Linked DNA regions of Homo sapiens: region 2 is linked to region 1. The links are contacts of gene promoters, found by promoter capture Hi-C in blood cells and fetal thymus (Javierre and others, 2016). All regions are on one chromosome and are shown on one strand. Each heading gives the region's core, a stretch centred on a gene start or on the middle of the fragment in contact. The rest is flanking DNA. Distances are from core to core; before and after follow the strand shown.

Evidence for each region. Contacts are between HindIII fragments. The CHiCAGO score rates a contact against its expected background, and 5 or more counts as called.
Region 2: a contact is called between a fragment that was not itself captured here and the fragment with the promoter of GUCY2C-AS1 in region 1, in 11 of 17 cell types (naive CD8 T cells, naive CD4 T cells, total B cells and 8 more). The highest score is 12.4, in naive CD8 T cells.

What each region holds. Positions count from the first base shown.
Region 1 is chr12:14,662,534-14,669,060 of GRCh38, forward strand. GUCY2C-AS1 (GUCY2C antisense RNA 1) reads left to right here and starts at 3,103. Exons shown (of 6, transcript NR_186173.1): 1 at 3,103-3,164; 2 at 3,326-3,480; 3 at 5,496-5,613. The region is part of intron 10 of GUCY2C (guanylate cyclase 2C); the gene reads right to left. The HindIII fragment of the contact is 1,745 bases long and covers 2,072-3,816 here.
Region 2 is chr12:14,250,526-14,257,052 of GRCh38, forward strand. It overlaps the pseudogene GNAI2P1. Among named protein-coding and RNA genes, the nearest start is that of ATF7IP, 110 kb to the right of the region's middle. The HindIII fragment of the contact is 4,306 bases long and covers 1,123-5,428 here.

The DNA.
Region 1 (6,527 bases), core at 1,853-4,352:
GCCGTGGTGGTGGGTGCCTGTAATCCCAGCTATTCGGGAGGCTGAAGCAGGAGAATCGCTTGAACCCGGGAGGTGGAGGTTGTAGTGAGCCAAGATTGCACCACTGCTCTCCAGCCTGGGCGACACAATGAGACTCCGTCTCAAAAAAAAAAAAAAAAAAAGAAAGATGTTATCACGGTATACAATTTAGCTTTATATAAATAATATTCACATAATGAAAATGTTTCCTTGTTTTCAACTTATAGAATCAAGTTATAGGTAAAGAACAGAGGTCTTTATTTTGGTTACCAAATAAATATTATCAACCCTGGCAAAGAAAAATATAGGAGAATTTTGGAGATGGGAAGGAGGTAGAAGAAAGAATTGTGGCACTAACATCTTCATCTTACAAAGTGGGAGGCAAGATATTTTATATACAATTGATAGGACAACACTAGAAGCTCATGCATATTAATTAAAATGAAAAAGGTGTTCAATAATTGTACCGACAAAAAAGATATAACTATATGGGAAGAAGTGAGAAAGAGGGCTAGCGAAGATGAGCTAAATCTTCATGTATCAATACAAAAAATTAATAGATAACTGCTAAAGCTTATAAATCAAGAAATAGAAGCATATTATTTAGATATGCAAAACAGTAAAAGCAGAAGTGACTGAGAGAGCAGAGATGCACAGAGGTGGGATCAGGTGCATTCACTTTCCATTATGAACACATCTGCTACTGGATTTTAAAATCATGTGTGTGAATTTTTCTTTTTATTTTTCTGAGACAGAGTTTTGCTCTTTTTGCCCAGGCTGGCATGCAATGGCACGATCTCGGCTCACCGCAACCTCCACCCTCCAGGTTCAAAGATTCTCCTGCCTCAGCCTCCCAAGTATCTGGGATTACAGGCGCACGCCACCATGTCCAGCTAATTTTTTGTATTTTTAGTAGAGGTGGGGTTTCATCACGTTGGCCAGGCTGGTCTCGAACTCCTGACCTCAGGTGATCAGCCCACCTTGGTCTCCCAAAGTGCTGGGATTACAGGCGTGAGCCACTGTGCCCAGCCATGTGTGAATTTTTCTGTGCTAAAATATAATTGATGTAGGTGCCCCGAAAATGAGGTTTTAGGACTTCTTTATGAAAGCAGAATCCTAAACCTTCACACTGTATTCTCTATCATGACACCATAATCTAAACTCCTGGGGGCACAGTCCATGTCCTACTTATTCATTCCTGTTCATCCTTACACCTTTGGCACCCAGCACAAGACCTGGTAAAGTATCAATAAAAATGGCTAATAAAAAATAATAGAAGAAAAACCTGGCCCTGGTCATCTTATTGCCTGAGAAGAGGCAAGGAGAAGGTGCTTGGACATTAAAATACATAAATAAATTCATATAGAAAGACTCCTGTGCCATTAGGGGTCTCATGTCATATGTATTTTAAAACTGTTTTTGTTTAATCATATTATGTCCTTCTGAAGTAGATGGTTTAGCTTGGGGTAAACACTACAGCTCCTTTGTATAAGGGCTGAATTTGAAGGGTTTATGCTTTGCAGACATGTGACTTTGCCTCTATTACCTTGTTTTGTGTTCATGGGAAATTTTCAATGGTGAAAATGTGAACTTTGGATTTCTACTCTCATCGGGGCAGAAATAAATTCATACTTTGGAGTTGAACTTGCATTATGGGCACATTTAACTGGTGAATTCTGTTTGTTACTACAATCACCACTTCCATCACTATCACCACTATTGCCACTCCCACCATTCTCACGCCCTAAACCCCAGAAAACGAAAGTGAGTACAAGAAATACATTTTCAACAGTGTAGATAATCCCACTCACTGGTCTATCAAAATTGCACATCCCCTAGACTAGAGTATAAACTGGAGGGAATATGGGGACTCCTCAGCCCACCTCAATTCTCTGCCTCCTACAGTATGAACATCTCACTGTATTAGATATAATTATAATATTTATATATAGTATTTAAATATACTATTTAAATGTAGTCATTTTTAATTAAACATGCTTTTCAGTTTTGCCTTTTAGATAAACGCAGTATCAAGTTCTAAATTCCAAGGTTAAGCTTCTGCTGCCTTCTGGTGGCTGCTGTAGTTATCACATTCTATTTAACTCATCTCACAATGAATGAGAGTTTATAACCTCAAGGTCATATGATATTACGGTTGGAAGGAACCTGATAAACTTCTTGATTTAACAGGGGAAGAAACTCACACTTAGAAAAGAGAAATAAATTGACTGAAATTAACAGAGTATAGATGAGTGCTGGAGTCCAGAGTAGAAATATATTCAGTTATCTCATGTTGTCATTCATTCATTCATTCATTCATTCATTTATTCATTCCAAGGCACTGTGTTGGGGCAAGGAAATATGAATAAGAATAAGCCCTGAGGGGGCGCGGTGTCTCACACCTGTAATCCCAGCACTTTGGGAAGCCAAGGCGGGTGGATCACGAGGTCAGGAGTTCGAGACCAGCCTGGCCAACATGGTGAAACCCCGTCTCCACTAAAAACATAAAAATTAGCCGGCCGCGGTGGCAGGTGCCTGTAATCAGTTCCAGCTACTTGGAAGGCTGAGGCAGGAGAATCTCTTGAACCTGGGAGGCGGAAGTTGCAGTGAGCCGAGATTGGGCCACTGCACTCCAGGCCGGGCAACACTGCGAGGCTCCGTCTCAGGAAAAAAAAAAAAAAAAAAAGCTAAGGAAAGTTGAGATTCCGGTTAAATCTTGAGGATGAGTAGATGTTTCCCACCTCTATGGAGAAGTGATAAATTCTATTCCGAGGGAGTAGCATAAATAAGGACACAGCGGCATAAATTTGCATGACGCTTTAAGGAAGTAGGGAGGAAGCTGAGAGCATGGGGAAGGGATAGGTGAGTAAAAGATAAGTAGGGAGATTACGGGCACTTTGTGCTGTATTAAGTAACTTGGACTGTATTCTGTAGGTAAAGCAGAGTTGCCAATTGACATGTTAGCAACAGTGCAGTGACATGATTGGACTTGTGCTTTCTTTCTGATAGCAGGATGGGTTGGATGGAAGTGGGCAGGACTAATGCAGGAAGTCAGTTTGACGTCATTTTTGTGATACAGGAAGCAGATGCTGAGGACTTGGATGAGGACGGGCACCAAATCTGCATTGTCCATTGCTATTTCCCAGGTGCTCAGAACATTGTCTGGCATTAAATAAATATCTTTGTTAAATAAATGAAAGAACAGGGATGGTGTAATCTCTTGGTGAAATGTTTTGTTACTTAGTAGCTGTGTACACACAGATGCAAGTTCCAGTCATGCATATCGTATTTCTATACTATTTCAAAGGTTGAGTTGCTGAAGCGGCTTCATTGTCTGGGGACATACCCAAGGTTCGTCATCGCGTGACGAGAAGATTAAGGACACAGACGCAAACACGGAGCGGGTCAAGTAGCGGAAAGTTTAATAGGCAGGAAAGAAGAGAACAGCTCACCGGTAGAGAGGTAGGAGGGCTCTGAAGGGAAAAAACCATGCTTGTGGTGGGAAGCAGTAGGTTATATAGGGAGGCTTCAGGAGGCGGTGTCTGATTTATATAGGGCCCAGGGGATTGGTTTGACCAGTGTGCCATTTACATAGCCCTGAAGAAACTGGCCCTCTCACCCTAATCTTTTATTATGCAAATGCGGCCTCTACCTGGCTGGCGCCATGACACCCACACATGTGGCTTTACCCGGCCGGCACAATGACACCCCCACACATGGCTACAAAGAAAAGGGAGGGGAAATCGCTATATTGGGTGGACCTGGCTTTTAGTACAGCTGCGGGCATTCATCTACGCAAGCTTCCAGCTTGCTTATTTATGCTTGCAGTTCAGCTTTTCAGGCTGCTTTTTGCTAGAAAAGAAATGGTTTGGAGACTGTTTTCAATTAAAAGAAAATGCCTGGCTGGGCGCCGTGGCTCATGCCTGTAATCTCAGAACTTTGGGAGGCCGAGGCAGGCGGATCACGTGAGGTCAGGAGTTCCAGACCAGCCAGCCCAACATGGCGAAACCCCGTCTCTACTAAAAATACAAAAATTAGCCGGGCGTGGCGGCAAACACCTGTAATTCCAGCTACTCGGGAGGCTGAGGCAGGAGAATCGCTTGAATCCGGGAGGCAGAGGTTGCAGTGAGCCAAGATTGCACCACTGTACTCCAGCCTGGGTGATACAGCCAGACAATGTCTCCAAAAAAAAAAAAAAAGAGTAAGAAAAGAAAAGAAAAAGCCTTACTGAGGACTCCTGTACCCTCGCTACCTGCCTAAATAATTTCTTTTTAACTCCTATATTATTGCTTCATTGGTAAAGTTTAGAGCTAAATGTAGTAAGTAACAGTTAAGTATTGAAAAGCTCTGGCTAACTGAGGTTGTTAGTTAACTGAGGCTGAAGTAAAGTTGCTCAGGATAATATAACGTCCCTGTAGGATATAGTATGAATATTTAATGTTCACTTTAGGAACACTTTTACACTGTTGGTGGGACTGTAAACTAGTTCAACCATTGAGGAAGTCAGTTCTCTTTAAGTAAAGAGAACTCTCTCAAAAAGTACTTTTTGAGAAGTTCAGCACTTTAGAAATCACAGACCTATTGAATAACCAAAATACCAAAAAACTTGAAGGAAATACATTAAAAACACAAACCTAACTTTGTCACTGACAGTTATAATTAAGAAGAAAGAAAAAATAATTTGAACTCAAAAAGTTACAAAAGAAGTTGAGAGTTGCAGAAGCCCATGAGAAAAGAGATATATTTCAGAAGTCAAGTTTGGTTTAAAACTAGAAAGCTTGAAGATGGTTCCAGAAAGTTTTAAAAGCTTATTAAATAAAACTCGACTTTAAAAAGCAATCATAGCAATAAATCTGAAGTCAGCTCAGGATTGCTTATTGTCTAGAAGAATGCCATCTTCATTCCCCCCTCCCTCATTTCGTTAATCAGCTGCTAATACCTGTTGGATAAAAGTACAGGAATCATTTTGGACTTAATTTGACTCATGGAGTGAAAGAAAACTAGAAACGCAGGTATAGCTCTGACACAAGCAAGCCCTTCAAACCAGAAATGTTCCCTTTATATCAGATCAAATTTTCAGAGTTTCTGGCTGTAGAGCGGGGCTGGTATAAAAATATTTGTAGCTTATAATTTTTAATACTTTTTGAAAATAAGAAACTAATACAGAGTCATTGTGGAAATTTTGGAAAATTCAGAAAAATAGAATAAAGCAAAAAAAATCTTGCAGGATCCCATCAGTCAGAGGACACCACTCTTAACAGTTTAACATATTTCTTTCCAGTCTTATTTCTATGCATTGTTTTACAAAGTTAGAATCTCATTAAATAAGAAGCTGTACTTTTCTATTACTTTACATCATAAGTTTTCCCATGTCATTTAACATTCTTCATAAATAATTATTTTTAATTGGTTGCCTGATGCTCCATTTGTGAATATATAATAATTTTCTTTTTTTTTTTTTTTTTTTTTTGAGGCAGGGTCTTGCTCTGTCATCCAGGCTGGAGTGCAGTGGCACAATCATGGCTCACTGCAGCCCCAACTTACTGGGCTCAAGTGATCCTCCCACCTCAGCCTCCTGAGTAGCTGGGACCACAGGTATGCACCTCTATGTCCACTAATTTATATATATATATTTTTGAGACGGAGTCTTGCTCTGTTCCCCAGGCTGGAGTGCAGTGGCGTGATCTTGGCTTACAACAACCTCTGCCTCCTGGGTTCAAGCGATTCTCCTGCCTCAGCCTCCTGAGTAGCTAGGATTATAGGCACGCACCATCATGCCCAGCTAATTTTTGTATTTTTAGTAGAAACGGAGTTTCACCATGTTGGTCAGGCTGGTCTCGAACTGCTGACCTCGTTATCCACCCACTTCAGCCTCCCAAAGTGCTGGGATTACAGGCGTGAGCCACCACTCCCAGCCTTAATTTATAAATGTTTGTAGAGATGGGATCTCACTGTGTTGCCCAGGCTATCTTGAACTTCTGGCCTCAAGCAATCCTCCCACCTCAGTCTCCCAAAGTGCTGGGATTACAGGCATGAGCCACCACGCTTGGCTCTAAATAATTTTATTGATGGTATTTCTACTTTTTTTTTTTTTTTTAAATCTTTGGGCTAAATATCTGTCCAGATTTAAGACTTTTTCTTAAAGATTTTTCCTAGTCACATGGAATTACCACTCATTATGGCAAGCCCTGGCCAAGCCAGTCATGGACAGATTGTCCTGAGGCCTCGTTGCCCAGGAGATCCTGAGTGGCCCTGCCTGCTGCTGATGGTGAGTGTGCAGCTTGCACGGGTGAAAGCTGGCCAAGTCATGTTAGGGCTATTCATGACATGATAGGACCTAATCTTAAGTAGGTGGGTAACTATCATTGCAACCCAAATATGTGTCCAGTATGGGAACAGGGGAGACTGTAAAGGCCAGGATCACTGGTCACCCCTCAGCCTGATATGTCAAGTATTTCTTGCTGAAATACACAACCTTTTAGCTTATTGCAGTAAAATGTAAATGGAGT
Region 2 (6,527 bases), core at 2,026-4,525, 410 kb before region 1:
GACATATATGTGATACTTCTGAGAATTTTTATTTAAGCCAAACAAAATAAAACAAAACACCATGATCTCTTGAACATTGTCATTGTCACTGTACTATTTCATGGCCAAGCCAAAATTCTTTGAGAGCAGATAATAGGAAAGATAGTATTTCATACAAAGTTGAGAAAATCATGGATGGCTAGTACAGGTTAACTAAATTATGCAAAGGCATGTATTGAGATGATGACACAATAAAGACAGGAATTCGGGGCTTTCTCTGTTTTCATTCAGAGACAAGAAAAGACTAGGCAGCAAAGCTGGGCATGGTGGCTCACACCTGTAATCTCAACACTTTGGGAGGCTGAGGCGGGAGGATCACTTGAGCCCAAGAGTTTTAGATCAGCCTGGGCAACATAGTGAGACCCCCCATCTCTACTGAAAATCAAAAATTATCTGGGCATGATGGCAATGTGCCTGTAGTCCCGGCTACTAGGGAGGCTGAGGTAGAAGAATTGCTTGAGCCCAGGAGGTTGAGGCTGCAGTGAGCCTTAATAGCGCCACTACCATCCAGCCTGAGTGACAGAGTGAGGCCCTGTCTCAAAAAAAAGAGACCAGGCAGCAGCTACTGACACCCTAGCTTACTACCCATCTCTGGGCACTATCTCTTATTAACCTATCTTTGAATTTTTATTAGGGTGACACCAGCAATAGTCCCATACTCCTAATCCAGGTAAGGGAAAAGAGAGCTGGAGGCAGAAACAAGGAGGGAAGGGATGAAGATGGAAAAGAGAGAAAGAAAATGAATGCCAACTAGTCTTCCTCTCCTCACTTTGGCAGTGATAGACTCTTGCTCACTCCCTTTGTGCACTCTGGTAGAAAAGCAGCACATTCCATTTAGTTATGCCTCTGTCAGCACGGCGAGTGTTATTTAATTGCAGAAAACAATTTGGAGATAAGAGTGAGATTCAGGAAGGAAATTATTTTCCTTTCTTTTCAAAAATGGTACAAAAATAACAAGAACAAAACCATACTTAAGGAAGGAAGTAGATGGAACACAATAATATGGAGAACCATTATTCCTTCCCAGATTAGGCAGGAGAGCTAGGATCTAGTCCTATCTGGCCACACAAAACACATGGTTCAAGCTTTCTGGAGTTCCGTTTCCTCATCTGAAAAGGCAGGGGGTTAATTTTGTATTAAGATACTTTGAAGAAGGAATAACCATTTTTCGTGAAAGTTCAAGGGAGGATATAAAAAGAAACTAAGATTTAACAACACTTATCTTGTGCCAGGTAATTAGCACTAGGATTTTTAAAGTAGAGACTCAAGCATCCTGGGTTTGTGTTTGTGTTCTGCCTTCTACTAGCTGTGTGACCTTGGGCAAGTTACCTAACTTCTCTGTGTTTCCTTGTCCCCAGCAGAAAATGGGAACAATGGGCCAGGCACAGGGGCTCACGCCTGTAATCCCAGCACTTTGGGAGGCTGAGGCGAGAGGATCACTTGAGTCCAGGAGTTCAAAACCAGCCTAGGCAACATAGCAAGACTTCCTCTCTACTAAAAATCTAAAAATTAGCCAGAAGCAGTGGTACAAGCCTGCAGTCTGAGCTACTCTGGAGGCTGAGGCAGGAAGATCACTTGAGCCCAGGAGTTCAAGGCCACAGTGAGCTATGACTGCACCACTATACTCCAGCCTGAGCAACAGACAGAGATCCTAACTATAAAAAATAAAAATAAAATGGGAACAATTGTACCTTCTCCAAAGGGTGGCTATGAGGAAAACAGTTTATATATACAATGTGGTTTATACATACTATATATACATATATATCATAACAGTAAACTGGCACAAAGTATTGCTATGTAATTGCTCTTATAATGATTATTACAACTTTATAGAGATATTTTTATAGATGAAAAAACAAAATAGATGAGGAAACCACGGCTTCAGAGCTTTGAGTTTTTCTGACCTCAATATTCGGTCTCTCAACTATTGATTACCCTGAACCAGTTAAAAGAAGTGAAAGTCAGCCGGGCGTGGTGGCTCACGCCTGTAATCCCAGCACTTTGGGAGGCTGAGGTGGGCAGATCACCTGAGGTTAGGAGTTCGAGACTAGCCTGGCCAACATGGAGAAACTGTCTCTACTAAAAACACAAATTAGCCGGGTGTGGTGACGCATGCCTGTAATCCCAGCTACTCGGGAGGCTGAGGCAGGAGAATCTCTTGAACGCCAGAGGCGGAGGTTGTGGTGAGCTGAGATCGTGCCATTGCACTCCAGCCTGGGCAACAGGAGCGAAACTCCATCCCAAAAAAAAAAAAAAAAAAAAAAAGAAGTGAAAGTCACAGAATTTTGTAGTCAGTTAGGGAAATCCTACCAGTTTCACAACGAGTCAATCAAAACCTTGCAATAAATACACAATAAAGCTGTGCTTCAAATGTCCTCCAACACCTAGCACAGCTTTTAGAACAGCTAATTTGCTTAGGTGAAGAAATGCTCCAGGCAGGGCACAGTGGCTCATGCCTGTGATCCCACCTCACTGGGAGGCAGAGGTAGGAGTCACTTGAAGCCAGGAGTTTGAGGGCAGCCAGAGCAACACAGAGAGACCCTGTCTCTGTGAAAAAATAAAAAAATAAATAGGCCAGGCATGGTGGCTCATGCCTGTAATCCCAGCACTTTGGGAGGCCCAGGCGGGTGGATCATTTGAGGTCAGGAGTTCAAGACCAGCCTGGTCAACATGGCGAAAGCCCATCTCTACTAAACATACAAAAATTAGCCAGGCTTGGTGGTAGGCACCTGTAATCCCAGCTACTAGGGAGTCTGAGGCAGGAGAATCGCTTGAACCAGGGAGGTGGAGGTTACAGTGACCAGAGATTGCACCACTGCACTCCAGCCTGGGCAACAAAGTGAGACTCTGTCTCAAAAAAAAAAAGAAAAATAGAAAAAAATAACCAAGTGTGATGGTGCATGCCTATAGTCCCAGCTACTCTGGAGGCTGAGGTGAGAGGATCACTTGAGCCCAGAAGTCAAGGCTGCAGGGAGCCAGGATCAGGCCACTGCACTCTAGCTAGCATCAGTGACAGAGTGAGACCCTGTCTCAAAAAAAAAAAAAGCCCCAAAGACATTACTCTTGTGTTGGGCTGAAATCCAGTGAATTGGTGGCCCCTCTCTCTCTCTCTCATCTGAAGGTTTTCAGAGATGCAAATTGCCTACTTGAAATTCTGTGGCATTAGACTTCTGCTTGGATGAGTCCCTGGCCAGGAGTAGAATCTTTTTTTTTTTTTTTGAGACTGAGTCTTGCTCTGTCACCCAGGCTGGACTGCAGTGGCACGATCCCAGCTTAGTGCAACCTCTGCCTGCCGGGTTCAAGCGATTCTCCTGTATCCCCTCCCTAGTAGCTCAGATTACAGGCACCCACCACCATGCCCAGCTAATTTTTATATTTTTAGTAGAGACGGGGTTTTGCCATGTTGGCCAGGCTGGTCTCAAACTCCTGACCTCAAGCGATCCACCCACCTCAGCCTCCCAAAGTGCTGGGATTACAGGCGTGAGCCACCTCGCCCAGCTAGGATCCATTTTTTTTTTTTTTTTTTTTTTGGGACAGAGTCTCGCTCTGTCACCCAGGCTGGAGTGTGGAGTGCAGTGGCGCGATCTCGGCTCACCGCAACCTCCACCTCTTGGGTTCAAGCAATTCTCCTGCGTCAGCCTCCTAGTAGCTGGGACTACAGGTGCATGCCACCACACCCAGCTAAGTTTTTGTATTTTTAGTAGAGGTGAGGTTTCACTGTGTTAGCCAGGATGGTCTCAATCTCCTGACCTCATGATCGGCCCACCTTGGCCTCTCAAAGTGCTGGGATTACAGGCGTGAGCCACCATGCCCGTTGTGTGTGTGTGTGTGTGTGTGTGTGTGACACGAAGTTTCAATCTTGTTGCCCAGGCTGGAGTGCAATGGCATGATCTCAGCTCACTGCAACCTCTACCTCCCGGGTTCAAGCAATTCTCCTGTCTCAGCCTCCCGAGTAGCTGAGATTACAGGCGCCCGTCACCACCCCTGGCTAATTTTTGTATTTTTAGTAGAGATGAGGGTTTCTCCATGTTGGCCAGGCTGGTCTCGAACTCCTGACCTTCGGGTGATCCACCCACCTCGGCCTCCCAAAGTGCTGGAATTACAGGCATGATCCACCAGGCCTGGCCGCCAGGATACTCTTTTAAAGGAGGAATTGGTAAATCCTTTCCCTCTGGTGATAGGGACAGTTTTGATAAAGATGGAAGGGGGAAAACCATGTGCATGACTCCAGACTCAGAAACCAAAACCCAAGTTGAATTCCATCTCAGAGTAAAATCAAGTACTACAGATGAGAAAACACAGACGGTAAGAATTATAAGACTAGTGTGTCTTTTCTTAGGGGATAAAAGCTGTTTGACAGCATCTGCAACAAGTGGTTCACAAACACGTCCATCATCTACTTCCTCAACAAGAAGGAGCTGTTGGAGGAGAAGATCACACACAGCCCCTGACCATCTGCTTCCCTGAGTACACAGGGTCCAACAAGTATGATGAGGCAGCCAGCTACAACCAGAGTAAGTCTGAGGACCTGAATAAGCACAAAGACACCAAGGAGATCTACACACACTTCACATGCGCCACCGATACCAAGAACGTAGTTCGTGTTTGATGCCATCACCGACGTCATCATCAAGAACAACCTGAAGGACTGGGGCCTCTTCTGAGGGGCAGTGGGACCTAGCAGGATGGGCCACCACCAACTCTGTACCCCCCAACCCCTGAGGAAGATGGGGCAAGAAGACCATGGTCCCCACCTGTTCCCTGGACACTTTTCTCTTCTTTCCTTTGTTCTTAGCTCCCCCATCCCCTCAGCTTCAGACATAGGGGAGGGGTTGCCACAGGCCTCCCTGTTTGAAGCCTGCCCTTGTCTGAGGTGCCAGTAATGGCCATGGTACCCCCTTTCTGGGCATCTTTCTGGTACCCCCCAGAAGCTGTGAAGATTCTATTCTACTCAGTAGCTCTCATTATGTAAAGAGGAACCCTGAAATAAATCAGTTGTTCCTGAAAGTTCACAAGAGTAAGAAAACAGACTGAATCGTAAAAGAACTAACTGGTATAAAAGAAGAAGCCAGAAAGTAGTGGACTGGGACCAGAGAAATAATATTTGAATTTAATTAATCTGTTCAACAAATATTTGCTCCTTGCTAACATTTTGCCAGGTCCTATGCTTGTTATACAGTTTTGATCAGACAGACACGGCCCAAGGGTACTTAGAAAGCTAGTTGCGGGTGAAGGGGGAGAGCCAATGTACAAGAAAACAAATATATATAATTGTAAGTTACAGTGGTGCTACAACAGAAAAAAAGAGGTTGCCATGTAAGATGATAAGAAGGTATAAGGAATTTACTTTGGACCAAGCATTCAGGAAGGCCTCTGAGGAAGGCAAAGCTTGACCAGAGGGTAGGAGGAACTCAGAGGACAGTGAAAGGAGAGAGGAATAAGGGGTGGGGGGGGAGGGTGGAGATTTCAAGGTGGAGTGAAAAATGCAAAGATCCTAAAATAAAAGCATCTCTAAGAATCAGAGGGCCAGTTTGGATGGCTTGACCTCTACCCTTCTTGAATCCCCTTTGATACTGAACATTTTGGAAAATCCCGTGTAGCATATACTGTGTGCCTTCCCACAATAACTGATGACTCTTAAATCTCACAAAAACAAATTCAACTGATGAATTCACGTCCTTTTAACATACATTTTGAAGATTATCTTAGCCCAAACCGGCACCCACATCCTTCTGAGCGTACTGACTCACTAGACAAAGCCAACCCCTCCCCTCCTGTGTACAAAAATAGCTTTTCCATATCTACTGTTGTAATTGTTTTTTTTCCAGGGCTTTATGCTCTACTGAAACTAAACACTTAAATGAGCAATTTCACTCTGGTTTTAAGCCCAGGGGAAATGACAACGGTTTTGTCTCTGTTTTGAGACTTAGGGGCAAATTTTAAATCGTTAATATATAATTAATCCTATGTAACATCATAGAAACAAAACATCTGATTCTTCTTTCAGTATATTGCACACGTAAAATGCACATGAAACCAGGTTTGGAGAGTGATTCTTAGTAACGTAGCCTTGCATTTGTGCTTCGACATAAAATTGAGACATTCTCAAGAGGCCTTGGGACATGGTGACATGTTGCGCAGTTTGGCCAGCAGAGGGAGACCAGAGAGTCGTGAAGCACGCAACGAAGCCACACCCAGATTAGGGTTATTATCTGTCTCTTCTCTGAATTTTCAAAAAACACAAAAAGAAAATGAGAAATTCTTAAAACAAAGCCCCTTTTTTATTGAAGCAAAATCCACATAACATAAAACTAGCCCTTCTAAAGTGTGCAATTAAGTGGCATCTACCTCATTCACAGTGTTATGGAACCGTCACCTCTATCTAGTTCCAAAACATAAGAAATGTTTAAATTTTCTATAAAGGGAACTTGCAAAAACCCAGGCGTGTCCTATCCTCCTTATTTCGTCACATTCCCAGTTTTGTG